Linked DNA regions of Homo sapiens: region 1 is linked to region 2. Evidence: promoter capture Hi-C in human tissues and cell types (Jung and others, 2019). All regions are on one chromosome and are shown on one strand. Each heading gives the region's core, a stretch centred on a gene start or on the middle of the fragment in contact. The rest is flanking DNA. Distances are from core to core; before and after follow the strand shown.

Region 1 (2,700 bases), core at 199-2,698, 860 kb before region 2:
AAAGAAATCCTCTATTTCCCTTCTATTTACAGGTGCACAAGGTGGGCGCCCATTGACAGAGTGAGAAGCAAAGTTTCGTTTTTGTTTCTAACTTTTCCACTGCAGGTGACCCCTGAGGAGTTCATGAACTACTATGCAGGTGTGAGCGCATCCATTGACACTGATGTGTACTTCATCATCATGATGAGAACCGCCTGGAAGCTTTAAGCACATGACCTGGGGACCAGGCCCTGGGACAGCCATGTGGCTCCAAATGACTAAATGTCAGCTCAAAAACCAGAATCGTATTTGATTTCACACTCATCCTAATGTTTTTTTCTGTGTCAAAATATTGCATTTTCTGGGGCCAAAAAACAGGCAGAAATAAAAGACATTGAGTAGCCAACTGTGAGTTTGCCTTGCCTAAGACTGTTTCCTTTGTTCTAAAATAGGACTTAAATAAAATGAGCTCTGTAAAGCTCCTAGTGCTGTGCTGATACATGCAGGTGTCTAATCAACTTTAGGTTTTATCCCTTGGCCATTAATGAAAGCTTGAGTATTTTAATTAAAACCCTCACCCATGCACCCATAGTTTTTCTTCACCTCCTTTTAGATGATCCTTTTCTAGGTGAGATGATAATATATCTCTTTTTATGACTGATTGTAAGTCTTTAAGTGTTTCAGTCTCATTTGGGGACCAGAAGAAGACCACGTGTTAGCCTCAATTTCTACAAGCAAATCTTGAGTTTCACTGCTTAGGGTTTAGGGAAGCCGCAGTTTGACAAATAGATTCAAAATGATTTATTTAATAGTCATTTTAAAGACTGGTGTGAGTGAGGAGGCTATTTCTTTGAGCAGTAGATCCACGCCTGTTCATGGTACTCCTGTGGCTGAAGTTTTGAAACTGGGCTGGGCGCTCAGATTTTATCTGGGACATCTTGCGCTGTGTGTGGGCAGGCTATTCCAGAAAGCCTTCACCTGGTGGAATGTTTATCTCTCCCCTCTCTGCTTTCTGCCAATTGTGTTGAAATTCCCACCAGCAAGGGCTGGGTGCAGTGGCTCACGCCTGCAATCCCAGTACTTTGGGAGGCTGAGGTGGGTGGATCACCTGAGGTCAGGAGTTCAAGGCCAGCCTGTCCAACATGGTGAAAACCCTGTCTCTACTAAAAATAAAAAAATTAGCTGGGCATGGTGGCACATGCCTGTAATCTCAGCTACTCCAGAGGCTGAGACATGAGAATTGCTTGAACCCGGGAGGCAGAGGCTGCAATGAGCTCAGATCATGCCACTGCACTGCACTCCAGCCTAGAGCAAGACTCTGTCTCAAACAAACAAACAAACAAACAAAAATTCCCACCAGCACAAGGAGGTTGGGTGTGACACGGACTAGGATTTCAATAATATTCCAAAGCAGGTTTTCCATCTTGATGCTTCATGGCTTAACACCTCCTCCTCCCAGCACTAAGCTTTGGCTTCATATCGTTGATGTGTAGGACTCTGCCCATGAAAGGCTACTAGAAGCAAAGATAGCCCAGAGGCTGGAAAATAGATAAGAAAACTACAGCTCTCCTTCTGTGTCTTCTGTATCTAGGGCCAGAGATAAAAGCACAGTGACCAGCCTCTGGTTATGGTGCTGGAGACAATGCCCACCCACCTTGCTGCTGGGTGAAATACCTCCTTTTGACTCTGTCCTTAGCTGCACTCATCCCCCAGTTTGCAGACAGGATTGGGTTAATAGTCTTCTTTAAGATCTTATATACTTAATTGGCTCTGGATTTAGGGATTGAACACACTTGCCATATTTTGTATCAATTCACTGTTTAGGTTTTATTTCATACGCTTGGAAGTTGAGATTCGGATATGTATTAATTTAAAACATGTGAAAACCAGTGCTGCTACATAGGCATTATAGTAGTTATTAAGTAACTTGTTGAGATGCTCAACTTTTTCTTGAGGATGGTGTATCCCCGTATTACCAGAAACTAGTTTTGTTTTTGTTTTTGTTTTTTTACTTAATTGCACAATTGCACAAGTTTGATTTTGTATTGGATTTATTATCTCTGCTCATATAGAGGTTGGTTAGGCCAAAGATACCAAGTGTTATGAAGAAATATGTAGACTTATGTAGAAAACCAGAAGAAATTGTGAAGAAATGTATAGAAAAAAATCCATATATTTTTGCAGCCTGTGCCTTGTAGACTGTGGCTAAGGAGAGGTCCCCTATTTCCTGGGGATGATGGGTTTCAAGGCTTTTGCTCTAGAAAGATTCTTGTCTTTGATTCTGGGTATGACTCATGCCTCAGCTTAACTGAGGCTATAGAGTGAGCATGTGATTCTGAGCAAGGACCAGGTTGCAGCTATCAGCTTAGTCTTCTCCAGTGATACTTTGCTTCCTGTCAAATGGGGGCACAGGGCACAGCTATCCAATTTCAGATAACCCATACTTCATAGTGTATTTGGTCACATTTAGTTGCTTCTCTTCTAGCGGTTTGGGTTCTGGGCCCATGAGCAAGGTTCCACCAAGGCCCTTTCACCCTCTGGAAACAAAATCTGCTAATAACCTAATGGTCAAGGGTCACTGCACTCCAATTCTCATTCTCCTTTATGGCTTCTGGCACAGTCACGAATTATGCATTATTTAGCTCTACTCCTTCTAGTAGGAGTGGGAGGAAAAGAGAAGAGACATTTAAAGAAATCATTTGCTAACACTCTTCTGGATAT
Region 2 (2,700 bases), core at 167-2,666:
TCTTACAGACCAAGAAAAATCTCAAGTCAAGGAAGACTTGCGGTGTTCACAAAGGCAACATTGACCACAGTCCAGTAGAGCTGAAGAGCATATACCAGAATTCAGGAACTCAACATTTTCTCCCCTCTGTCCAACCACAGGACAGACTGTGCACCCCAGGGAGATGCTGTGTGTCCACTGGCCTCACTGACTTGGATTACTCCTGCAGCACGTGACCAGCCAGCTCATATGATCACTCCCTACTGCCCCCAAAGCAGAATTGACTGGGAGCTGGAAACCCACACAAAAAGGGACAATTATATTGAATGTAACATACTCCCTCTGCTTACCTAGTGCCTTCACCTCCTATGGGCATTTGGAGTAAAAGGTTGTTATGCAGGTGTTTGTGAAGGATGTGGCCAAGTCAGTTGTCTCCCTTACAGGGTGACCCAAGATTAATGATATCTACCCATCCCCAGTCCCTCGACCCCCTAGTTGCAATCAGCTTTGTCACTGTCCCCCTTAGGCACTGCCATGTAAAGCACGTGGTCCCCCATTCTGAAGCAGTGGGAAACCTAGAAGAGATGTACTCTTCGCAACCTGGTTGGATCTTAAAAACATGGTTCTAACTGAAAAGAAAAAAGACATATTACACATATTTACATAAATTAAAACTGCATTCACCCTAAACAATACACATTTTACAAGAATGCGTTCCAACAAAAGGATATATATAAGCATGCTAAATACTTGCTTATGGGGATTGAAGGTAAGGGGAGGCTGGAGTGGGATAAATAGGAATTTAAGAAATAATGAAAATAAGGCACACTAACTCCTTAGCTCTCAACCTTTTGCCTTCCTCAGACACATAAGATGATCCACAGCTGTCCAGAACCTTACCTAGCTATTTGGTACTCTCAGCTTTTCTTTGGAATGGCTCCTTCCCCATTGTTTTCTCCTCTCTTTCTCTAAGACCCCCAAAACCAATTTATTTGTTCATTCACTTCATGCATATCTTCCTTTTTCCTCTCTTAGTCACATACCTCGTTTCACAATCTCCGACCCCTTCAACCATGTCCTGATCCTTCTCCCACACCCAGCACCACCCTCCTGCAGAGAAAAGTGTACCCGGATGAAACTCCGATGGAATATTAAACTAACAGAACTTGTCAGATGACCTTTGCTTTATCTGCCTGCTTTCTTTCCTCTTCCCTTCTGTTCTCTTCTTTTCCTTTCTTTTCTCTCCTCTTCTCTCTCTCCTTCCTATTTTCATTCTATCTCTTTTCCTCACTCTCTTTTTCTCCCCCTTGAAGGCACTGTTACTAGAAATAGAGAGCTCTGGGGCTTGCCTGAAGCCATGGGCAGTCACCACTCCAGGATTCCCCTTTTAGCGCCTCCTCCCCATCTTAATCTCAAAGTCCAGCAGGATAGTGAGCAGTTAGAGCCCGGCCTCCAATCTGCTTCCATGGGGGTTGGCTTTCTGAGTGGGAGAAATGACTCTAATCTGGAGACATTTGCTGAGACCCTTGTGCCTGGTCACTTCCGCTCCCAGGATCCTTGAGATGCATCCTTTCCTGAGCCGTAAGTGGAAACCAGGGGGACGTGGGTCAGTAGAGGATCAGCGAGAGGGTAAGACTTGAGCTCCGAAGGCTGCTGCCTGGGATTCTGGAATGTTAGACCTGGGTGAGGTCTTAGAGATGAGGCATGTTTTTGACACACAGGTTCTCACCCTGAGTCAATGCCCCATTTTCATAGCCAATATTTTGTAATGCTCCTTTTTGTTTTGAAATGAAATTCGTGGATAATGAAACCCGACTATACACAATTTCAACATGACATGCTATCTCAGCTTCAATATTTTTAAAAACCAAAGGAAAGCAATCAAAATAGAGTGTGACTTCAATTTACAGATGCCCAAGGATGATTTCTATTTTTTCTTTTTTGAGACAGGGTCTCCCTCTGTCACCTAGGTTGGAGTACAGTGGTGTGATCATGGTTCACTGCAGCCTTGACCTCCAAGGCTCAAATAATTCTCCCACCTCAGCCTCCTGAGTAGCTGGAACTATAGGCACATGCCACCATGCCTAGCTATTTTTCTTTTTTAACTTTTGTAGACATGGGGTTTTACTATGTTGCTCAAGTTGGTCTCGAACTCCCGGGCTCAAGCAATCCTCTCACTTCAGTCTTTCAAAGTGCTCGGATTGCAGGCCTAAGCCATTGCACCAGGCTAGGATGACTATTTTAAAAGATGTAAAGCATCTGCATGAATTTTCATCATGCCTCTAGGAAGTGAGACCACGCTCTCAATTGCCAACAAGTGCTGTGATTCACCCAGAGTCATCCAAGCCAGGGCTTGACCCCAGGCCCTCCCCATCTACTCAGACTCTCCTCTCTGCAGCAAGAACAGAAAATATGAGGAGATGTGGGGTAACCAGACATTGGTGGCTTTATGAGTAATATCCTATATGCTTGTGATTTTCACATGGATCTTGTTTCACGAGAGCCTCACCTCCTCCTCAGCAAATTCCCTCATGCAAACATGAGATTAAGCAACTGTCTGTACATTTATGTGCCTGTGCTTCACGGGCCGTAAACAGGTACAGGGGACCATTTTACATTCCCCATTGTGACCAACTTTGCCTTCATTTTCTCCTCATATTTCCCTTTCACCCTCCTTCCTTCCTCTCCTCTTCGCTTTCTTACCCCTGAAAATTGCAGTTT

The links. The method cuts DNA at HindIII sites, captures the fragments that hold promoters and counts their contacts. A contact is called where the count stands out against the background at its distance.
Region 1: a contact is called between a fragment that was not itself captured here and the fragment with the promoter of AGXT2 in region 2, in 1 of the 25 tissues and cell types used here (H1 embryonic stem cells).

The regions. Positions count from the first base shown.
Region 1 is chr5:35,902,052-35,904,751 of GRCh38, reverse strand. It overlaps CAPSL (calcyphosine like), which reads left to right. Exons shown (of 5, transcript NM_001042625.2): 5 at 106-464. The coding sequence ends at 207. Among named protein-coding and RNA genes, the nearest start is that of CAPSL, 35 kb to the left of the region's middle. RefSeq lists an enhancer at 58-157. The HindIII fragment of the contact is 3,117 bases long and covers 1-2,700 here.
Region 2 is chr5:35,046,665-35,049,364 of GRCh38, reverse strand. It overlaps AGXT2 (alanine--glyoxylate aminotransferase 2), which reads left to right and starts at 1,416. Exons shown (of 14, transcript NM_031900.4): 1 at 1,416-1,560. The coding sequence starts at 1,473. It also overlaps a transcript of PRLR not described here. The HindIII fragment of the contact is 10,637 bases long and covers 1-2,700 here.